2 separate regions of the Homo sapiens genome follow, and region 1 is linked to region 2. Evidence: promoter capture Hi-C in 16 types of primary human blood cells and fetal thymus (Javierre and others, 2016). All regions are on one chromosome and are shown on one strand. Each heading gives the region's core, a stretch centred on a gene start or on the middle of the fragment in contact. The rest is flanking DNA. Distances are from core to core; before and after follow the strand shown. Region 1 overlaps ANKFN1 (ankyrin repeat and fibronectin type III domain containing 1). Region 2 holds the start of ANKFN1 (ankyrin repeat and fibronectin type III domain containing 1).

Region 1 (4,961 bases), core at 1,999-4,498, 160 kb before region 2:
AGACTCTTCGAAAAGAGATGGCCCATATTCCTCGTAGTGCAATCCGATGACAGAGTGTTTATCTGAACTAATCATGTGGGATTTTCCAGTGCCACATTTTTGAGAAACGGGATTCTCTTAAAGGAGGTTACAAACACTTCACTGAAAGCTTTCCAAGAACAGCTTCATCCGTCCTCTCAGCAGCCTCTCACCGGGCTGTAGCACCGACGTGATAATCGGAGTCCATGCTTCTGAAAAGCCTTCTTGTCCTGGCTGCCACCCTCCTTTCAGTCATCATTAGAATTCTCAAGCTATGAATCCCCTATTGTCTGTATGAGCCCAGGATCCCCCACACCATGCCGAGGAAGGAATGTGAGCCTCCTGGGTCTGGCTCTAAGTCTCAACCTTATCCAGCAGGTCACAAAGCCCCATTTATATGCAGTTCCAACATTTTATCATAATTCTTTATCTGCTCGGCCCCATATATCCTCTAGGGCAGTCAGGAGACATTTGGTAATGAAGCCCATTTATCCTTATTTTCTCAATTGGCACACTTCAGGTTATAATATTTATGTTCACACTGTCTTAATTTTGGATGTCAAAGATACTATACTAGACAAGTAGCATTGCCAAAGGATAATTGAACCATGTGGAAGAGTTCACCAGAGTCTGATACATGATGTGGTTTGTCATATTACCAATCATTGCATCAAAATAGTTACTTTTAATAGCTCAGTGGAAAAATAAATGCTGCCATTTATCAAATACCTTCTATGTGCCATGCAATGGTATCTCTGAATTCTCACACTCTACAAAGTAGGATTACCCACTTTTTATCGATGAGGAAACTCAGGTTCAGAGAGATTAATCAGCTTGTTTATGTGCATTTAGGGACTGAGCTGAGACTCAGACCCAGGTCTCTGCAAAGTTTGTGGTATTTCCACTTCATTCCTTTGCCAAGAAATAAGAAATAATACATAATATGTATAATAATATAATAAGAAATATAATACATTTCGTTAGTTGTTTTACATTAATGTAACATAATTATTTTTCATCAAAAACATGTAAATAATTATGAAGTTCGGGCTGATAAAATGCTTTGGCCAACTGAGAAATGAGATCAGCTCTGATAAGCATTAGCACATCAGTAGGAATTTGTAGCATAAATTTCACCTATCAATAGGTGGCAGTATTCACCTAACTCTCTTTAAAAGGAGCCAGCACAGGTTGCTTCTTATGACCAATCCCTAGGCCATCTGTATTCTTTGATGCACTAGATTTGGTCATAATGAATAAAGTGTGTAATAGGTTGGTGGCTAATTGGACCTCAATCATGCCTTTGTATAGGGATATCTGGACTGTAGTGCGGTTGTGGTAGAGGACTGTTATCCATGGCAGAGATGTTGGGATCCCTCTCCATTTACAACACTCATTTTGGCCGTTCCTCTGGGGAAGTCTTTTATTGGTGATTCAAAGCCAAAGATGATTTTTGTGCCCTGGTTTACTTTAAGGATGTTGTGCAGAATTCTCAAACAATTTGAAAATGAAATAGTTAATACTCTAGGATTTGATAACTCATAAACCAATGTTTGTCTAGATTAAAAAATAGAACATTTATCAGACTTCAGGGTTTCAGCTTTTTCAAAACCCTATGTATGTGTACAGCTACCCATCAAATCATATGAATCTTCACCAGTAGGCACGGAAGCTGGAATCCATGAGGTGACTATTCAATAGACAAGTCAAAACGGTTTCGTTGATTAGTCAAAATACTGAAGGATAAATGACTACTCAATTTTAGGCAGACCCCTCCTCCTCTTCTTCCTCCTTTGTCTATGTTTTTTCTTCCTCCTCATTTTTTTTGTAAAGAAAATCTTAATATTGAAATATCTGCAGTTAAAAGTCACAGATTCAGTCTCTATTTTCTACTTGCCAACAGGAGTCCACTTAGGAGAATTTAGCTTTATAAAGTCAAGAAAACAGGTAGATAAAAAGATAAAAGAATAACCTGAAAGACTCTTTGACCTATCTTTATGCTATCTTCTCCATTTTCATTTGAGATACTTGGGAACAGATCATTATCAATGACGACAAACAAGCACTTGGAAATCAGATAGGATGAGTAGTCCTAACTCAGAACTAAGACGTTGACTCCAATAAGATTCTCAGCAGACCAGATTTTCTTAAAAGAATACAGATTGGCTGGTGGAATAAGGAAGGTGGCCCTGAAGACAGACTATTTACCTCTCTTTCATGTTCCCGATGGAATGAATGTCTTTCTCCTCTCTCCTTGTAGTATTTATAACGATGTTAAAACTCTCAGCACAGCCTAACTTCATTAGAGTTACTTGGGGCTCTATGTAATTCCCTTACTGGATTGAAATCTCCATGAGGGCAGGACCCGGGCCTCATTGATTTTTGAATTTCCCTCTCAGCTCTTGGACTGGGGCCCTGTGCATGGTAGATAATTTTCAATACATATAGGTTTAATTGAAAAGAATTAAAGAGAACTCAGAGGAATGCATTTTATACTTTTTCCCAGTTTAAGGAAAAGGGCAGCTTTGGTGTTGGATGCTATGCATGCTCATATTTCTACTTTCTTATCTGCTTCTTCCATTTCAGGACAGTATTGGTGAGGGTAGAGGTATCATGCCAAAGGCCAGCACACCCCCCCCAGAACCATTAATTATCTATTTTTACATCCTTGGCAAGGCCATCTGGTTTTGTAGAAAAATGCCCTGGTTATATGAAGGTTAATTGCAGAGGCAGGCCAAAAAATAAAAATAAAATTTAAAAAAAGGCAGTTACAAGGGACATTAAGTGACCTACTGTGTCATTCCAATCACTAATATTTCCTGCCTTTGTGGTCTGGAGACTCAATCTGCACTAAAGAGCTGAACAAGGCAATGCTATTTCCTGGTGGTGGTTATCATTGTTTCCCATATTAGGACAAAGCTAAGCACAAGGGGAGACAATGTGTATCGTGTCTCACAAGGGAAGGGTAAGCATCTTCAAAAGCTTACAAAATTACATTGAACCCATTTAGGCATATCAGGAGATATTGCCAAGCTGGAGAAATGAATTACCCAGCTGAATATCACAGGCATAATGAAGTTGTCAACAGCAACAGTGCAGCTGTAGATTGTCTGATTATGTGTTGACTGCACTGGCCATTCAGGGACACACCAGGAAGGAAATTGTTGTCATATTGTCCACCACATTCCAAGCCCCATCCCAGCCATGGTGATAAACCCGATACCCTTAGGAGTATGTGGAAAATAAAAATAACAACAGCAAGCCAGAAAGAAAGAGCATCCTCTTCTGATGGTCTCTTATGTCTAGCATTGCTGGAGTCTCTCCCCTTCTGTTACTCTAATCTGTCATCTTCTTTTAAAAAAATGACCATGACAAGGAATGCAAGTTTAGATTCTGGCCCTCCAAACAAACATTTCACAATGGGCTTTTTAGCCTTTGTTAAATTCAAAATAAGCGGGAGTCCAGCAAGAAAGCTTTAACTACGTGGGTGGGATTTACACCTTTCCTATGAGTCAAAGATGAAGGCAAGCTGGAGTTTTCCCTTTTGCTAAAGCATCTAAAAAGGTTGATTTGCAATGTTTCTGGACAGCAACTGGAATGTTCTTGAAGGTTCTTCTGGCTTTTTTCTTTTTTAAAAACACCTTCAGTTTTCTCCTCTAAGTGAGGGGGTCATGCTAGATGACGTTGAAAGTCACTTCTAGCTCTAACATGTTATGATGTCAAGAAGCCATAGAGCACTTAACACATAGAAGAACTTCTCTGCCACAAAGAAAAAAATGCTTTATTTCAACCCAGCTAGTCTTGGTTTGTATTGGACATATGGTCTGATATTTCAGAGTCAATATATGTGATCTCTCTTTCCAGAGAGTGTGCTGAAATCTGCTTTAAACGTGTGTTATTTATCAGGAATGTTTTCTTTTTTAAAAAGGAACTAATGTAGATGTGCCTCACTCATTAATAGAATTCTATTCTCTATTCAGGTTTTCTTCAGAGAAAGCCAACAAGATGTTTCTATTAGTGGGACTGGTGCTTTTTAAATGCTTACAGTATAGCACAGGAGCATTTGATCCTTTAATTACCCTAGGTGGCCCCACTCAGTGGGTGGTGATTTGGGTGAGGAATCTGGATAGCTTTGGTGGTCAGTCAAGCCATAAAGAAAACTCTCCTCCTTCCACCCTCATTTATTTTTCTCTCCTGAGTGCCAGTCAAAATGAGATTTTTTTGTTTTTTGTCAATTCTTCTAGGAATACTTCTGTTTGGCATTTGAATCCAGGCTTAAGTTAAATTTTAGGCCCCCAAGACCAAATTTCCAAAAGGGTCCTCTACCCTTGGCTAACTGCTAAATGAATAAATCTCTAAAGAAGCCTTCCGTATTTTCCAGGTCCTTTTCTCCATTTATTTCACAGCCTAAGTGTTCCTTAGATGATACTTGAGTGGGTGGCTTATGACCCAGTCTCCTGCCAAATTGCTCAGCTTTCTACTGCCATAAGAAATACCTCCTCCATTTTACAAATGGAAAAGTCTCCTTGGTTTATCTCCACAACTTCATGGAATCAGATCCTTAGTATTAAGGAGAGAATTCTTTGTAATTAATCACAGTGAGAATTTGAAATACCAAGAGAAGCAAGGAAGTTAATTCTATTTGCACATTCAAGCATAATAATAAAGACGCATAACTGTGTAATAAGACCCAGCAATTATAAAGGCCATCTGCACTATCAGTTAAACGTTGACTGTAAATGCCACTTTACCCATTAAAATTACTCTCAGCTGAAAATAAAAACTTTGTCCCCTTTCTTCTAAAAATGTCAGATGAAGTTTGCTGTACAAATGTCAGGAGCGTCTGACCTAAGGCATATAGCAGCAAAGAGGCATTTAATGAATTGGAGAAGAAAGAAGAACAGAGGAGGAAAAACAAAAAGAAAGTTGAAGAGGTTGTAGGA
Region 2 (5,355 bases), core at 1,175-3,674:
CCAACCACTTTGCAGATATCATCTATAGAACACTATCCTCTGCGCATTTGCTGGAGTGATCAGATATAATTATTTCTATGTAAAAATTTATCCAATGGCTTCCCATTGGTCCCTATCATGACCTACAAGGCCCCTGTGATCTGTGTCATCTCACTCCAACCTTCTGACCTCTCCTCTCTGCTTCACTCTGTTTCTGCCCCAGGCACCTTGCTTTGCCTTAAGACATGCCAAGCTGACTCCCCAAATCAAGAGCCTCATACTTACGGGGGTCCTCAGACTCAAGCCAGTGCTATTCTCCCACTGTAAGCACAGCTTATTCCTTCACTTAATTGGTGCCTCAGCTTAACTGTCACCTCCTCAAAGAGAACCTTCCTGACCACGCTATCCAGAAAAAAGGAAAGTTATTGGCTTTCAATAATTACCTGTTGATTGTCGAATAAATGAAAGACTATATTGGAATGAAGAGACAGAGCGTGGCTGGCTTAGGACCAGCTGCTTGGCACATTCCAAGGGCAGAGATTCAGACCTCTCAGCAGTGAGAAGCCTTGTCTCATGGAAGAAAGGTAGCTTGCTTGCCTATATCAGAACAAATGACAGTACTGCTTTGTGTCATCTTCAAAAGTACCTAATACAGGAGAGGTGACACAAAACTGGGAGAGATAAGTCTCATGACTCTGAATAAATGTCAGAGTTACAAGGGACCTGAGGAGTCCTCTAAGGTCCAGCATTTTCCAGCTTCCAGTCTCTGAGCCACTTTTTGCTCTACTTCCTCCTCTGTCTGCCATGTTCCTTTTTGCAGCAGCTGTTCTTGACCAGACGGGCCTCCCTCTCCCAAACCCTCCTATCCCCCAGGGTTGAGGGGGGCATGAAGGCTTTAGATAACTACTTTTGTTGGGAAAACACTGTTCTCGTTTAAACTCTGTCACTTCATGGATGAAGAAACTGAGTGTTAGAGAACTGAAATAGTATGGTCGAAGTTCTGCCACTAATTAGTGTCAGACCTGAGCCTAGAGCCTAAGTCTTCTGACCACAAGACTAGTCCTAGCTCTACACTTCATGGAACAAATGGTAATCATACCCCACACTGTTCATTCAATTCAATTCTACAACCATGAATGGAGCCCCCCAAATGTACCTGGCCCCTAACTGGTTAGAATCAGGGGCAAAATATTGAAAACTGTATAGTTCCTGTCCCCAAAGGGTTTACTGAAAGTTTGAATACATAGTAAAAGGAATAAGTTTTTTTTTTTTTTTTTGGTGTTGGCATATTGGTTAATAGGTTAATGCAGTAGCCAGTTTAAACTCAGCAAGTACTTCAAGATACCTTCTCAGAGGTTCCATAAGCAGTTATGCTTAGGCCTCACTCTGGATGTGATTTTATAAGGAAGGAAGGAAAAAGAAAGAAAGGAAGGAAAAGAGAGAAAAGGAAAGGAAAACTGAACGGTGCTCTGGCCTCCTCCTTTCATGCCTTACTTGCACTTATCTCTGGTTTTTTCAAAGGTCTTAAGCTTCAGGTTCATTCCTGAAAAGCTTTTTGGTAAGGTCCTCACCTACTCTGAACTCCTGAGGGGAAGTGAAGTAGCTGAATAAGTTCCTCCTATTAGTATCCCCTACCAGGACCTCAGCCAGGACTTCAATAATAACCTTCTGAATTATTGTAGAAACCTGTGATTAGTATTAACCAAGTCAATAACAGGCATTTCCTCCATCAACCAAAGGCACATTTGAGGTCTTCTGGACCAATCTGGGTCAGTAACAGGGATTCCGATACCACCGACACAACCCACAGGGTTAGTATGTGTCAATCAGTTCTGTCCTGCCTAGCCCTGGCTCAGCTCTTCAGAGATGACCTCTTACAAAAAAAAAATCCACTTCCAACTTTAGAAAAAATTTTACTTCTCCATCATCATGACAATAAAGTCCATAAAAAGTGAGAGAGAGAGAAGGAGAGAATCCATGTGGGAGACAGTGAGAGCGTGTGAACAGTCAGAAATCATGAGCAAGAGTTGGCATTAACATGGAGACAAGTAATCCCTGGTTTCCTTGCTTTATATAAATAAAATGATAAGGATAAAAGAGAAAACAGACCATAAAGTAAAAACTTGTCTCTAGAAGCCTCTCTCCTTTAATCTCCCCATTCTCCCACCTCCCAAAAGACAAAGACACACATTACAGACCCAAACTACTTCAGATCAACATTTGCCTGTTTACAGAAATGAAACCAGCTTTCCCTCTGCCTGACCATGGATGCTCACCAGCTAACGCCCGAATTCACTCGCCCACTCAACTCACATTTTCCTGCCTGTTGAATGCAAAACAATGGCCTCCAAACACCAATTACCGATATTTAGAACTATTGTTTTCCTACCCTGGTTAGAGACGCCTCCATGAGAGACACAGGACTGAGCTCTTGAGTTGAAAGAGGACCTGGGGGGTGGAGGGAAACCCCTTTGCGAATGTCCACACGGTCCCGTTGCCAAGGGAACCCTGGCTTTATCCAGGGAGACTGAGCATGGCTGCCTCTCCCACGGCTTGGCTCCAGGAGTGTCCAGATTACAGTGCAGGGTCAAGAGGAGAGGCAGGGGAAGTGCCACACAGGCTTGGTGACAAAGAAATCGTTTTCAAAGAATGAAAGAAATGGTGAAAAATATCTTAGGAGGTGCCCGGTGGGGAGGGAATAAGTTGATTGATAATGCTGCGATCAGATTTGAGTTGGTCTTTGTGCCCCTGAAAGGGGTGGGATTCGAAAGTATATCTGAAAGGAGACAGGGTGGGAAGGAAAGAGAGAGTGAGACTGAGAGAGGAAAGGTTGAAAGGGGTGGGTTTTAGCCTCCTTCTGCGGATGCTGAATACTAATCAGGTAAACAATTATTTCATTAAGATGCTCAGTTGAAGCTTTGGAATGGATTATTTTGGCTACTGGATTGGTTGGAGGAGCTGTCTGGCTGTTTCCTAGAAGTCTGGTGGGAACTGGAGGGGAGATGATAATATAATCTTGATAGTCAAGCAAGTTTTTATTTGGCCTGCACTTTAAGGGCTGAGGCTGGCCTTTCTTTTCAGAGTGAAATCTCTTGGGAAGTGTGCCAAAGGAGGCACATTATGTGCATGCTTATTTTGAAAACCCATTTGTCAAAGGAGGAGTATGTTGAGCAGTGGTTTGGAGAGTTTGATTGGACCCTGATTCCTCACCTAGTGCCTGGCACAGTGTAGATGTTCAATAAAACATTTGCCACCTGAATGGTTGCTGAAGGAAAACTTGTTTCCAGCAACTTGCCTGTCCAGCAAGGATGAGTACTTTGAAGCAGTTGAGGCTCAGCAGATGTGGCTTACCTATTGACCCACAGATGAATGGGAACAAAATAGAGGACTTGAGCCCAGAGCCCCATTACCCTTGATCATGAATGTCTAATTGCTTTTTTAAAAATAGAGAATTCAAGGGAACTCTCTATCTAAATGTTGCTGCTACTATACAATAGGAAAAAAAAAGACAAGTAAATGAAAAGAAGTAATAATAGGTATCTCTGCAGGTGATCTGGGCTTAACATGGAGTGAGGATATTCGTACTGAGTTACAGTGAGGCACTCAGAAAAATTAAACACACACACACACACACACACACACACACACACACACACATATATATATATATATATTTCCCTGCAAGATGGTGAGCTTCTTATATTACTCATCTTCCAAGGCTTAGCTCTGGCATCAGTTACCCCAGGAACTTTCCATTACTATCCCCAACCTCAGCTTCCATAGTACTTTTTACAGTTTTTCCTCAGAATGCTTATCAAATGGATTTAGTTGTTGCTGCATGTGTACATAATCACAGGAATGGCCCTCTACCAGAATGGAATCTCCTTGATGGAAGGCACCATGCTTCATTCCTTTTCTTTAAAAAAAACTCTTTAATACTTAGTAAAACGCTTGTTACATAGGAAGTGCATGATACATATACTCAAGAATTGAACAGCAATGAGTCAATTTGTGAGTGTTTTGTTGAGTGTCAGCTGCATTAAGCTCAAGGGAAGATTCAAGTCAAGGTGAAGGTATAGTATCTGCCCGCTTCAAAAAGTTTAAAATCTATGTAAGATGAAGGTGACTTGGTCTTTAATGTTACTTAGGCTTACTGCAGTAAGTGTAGCTGAGAGTAACGGAAGTAATGCTTTTATTTAATGGATAAAAACCAGCTCTCTCAGTGGTGCTGTTGGTCAGATTGTGGCTATGAAACCCCAGAAACTCAGAGTTGCAAAAAGGCCCAGTTAGGCTTGCATGGTACGTGCTTATTTCTTCTTTTCAATACCCTTGGCTTTGTCAGCCCATCTACTCTAAAGAGGCCCCATTTAAGGGCGTGTTTCCTAGTAGTAGACAGGCTGGAAATAGCCCCAACCCAGCACTTTCTCCACTCTACCATGCTGCTTATTTTATAAAAAGACTAATCTAAATCCAACAAAACCTACTACCAAAAAATGCACAAATTACAACTGGCACATAGCCACAAACCCAGCATTTTAGACATTCATATCATTTGGGAATATCTGGACCCAGATTCCCTTCTTATTTTCTTCAGGGGATGATGACACAATACAAACTTTGCATGGCTGACAGCACTAACCAGGGGAAGATTCCAACCAAAGGGAGCAGGTCCTGTCCTCACTGCACCTTCATGATGAAAACAGCAGGTAGAGGGTGTTAGGTGCCAAAGTGAGTAATAGAGGACCAATGCTATAAGGTCATAAGGAGGTCACAGATGAAGACTGAGGACCAGAGAGGTGGCTGCACACTGAGTGAGCAGAGATGGGACTACACTCTTAGCCTGGAAACACTCAGCCACAACTTCCCTAGTGGGCTCCCCATGTCAGGTCCTTGTCCCTCCATCCTGCCTCTCACTCTGTCCCCAGAGTGAGCTCTCCAGGCTGATCATTCCACCTGGTCAGGTCACTCTATTCACTTCCCCGGTGTCCCAAATCCTTTCCCAAATAATCAACTAATTACTTCATCACATTCTTTCTCTTGCACTTTCCTTTGCCAATATTGACTCAAGTGACAGCAATGTCACTGATATCTCCCTGAGTCAGCTCTCAAGGTCACTCTGCTTGGGCTAGGGAGTGATAAGCGAGACATCATGGAATGAGAGTCTTGGTGGAAGGAGGCTAACCTGGGGTTATGTTACACTACAGTGGCAGGAAGGGACGATATTTTGGTGCTCGGCATTCATCATAAGGTGCTGAGCATTTTGGGAAGAGAATGTGATGAGCAGAAGAATGCCTAAAGGAAAGGGAAAGGAATTAGAATTCAGTTGTATCTACTACCCAAGTGCATTTATAACTTGTGGGCACCAACTAGCTTCTG

Evidence for each region. Contacts are between HindIII fragments. The CHiCAGO score rates a contact against its expected background, and 5 or more counts as called.
Region 1: a contact is called between a fragment that was not itself captured here and the fragment with the promoter of ANKFN1 in region 2, in 3 of 17 cell types (M1 macrophages, M0 macrophages and endothelial precursors). The highest score is 7.5, in M1 macrophages.

What each region holds. Positions count from the first base shown.
Region 1 is chr17:56,315,936-56,320,896 of GRCh38, reverse strand. The region is part of intron 3 of ANKFN1 (ankyrin repeat and fibronectin type III domain containing 1); the gene reads right to left. Among named protein-coding and RNA genes, the nearest start is that of ANKFN1, 160 kb to the right of the region's middle. The HindIII fragment of the contact is 491 bases long and covers 3,003-3,493 here.
Region 2 is chr17:56,150,544-56,155,898 of GRCh38, reverse strand. It overlaps ANKFN1 (ankyrin repeat and fibronectin type III domain containing 1), which reads right to left and starts at 2,424. Exons shown (of 21, transcript NM_001370326.1): 1 at 2,369-2,424. The HindIII fragment of the contact is 1,365 bases long and covers 1,533-2,897 here.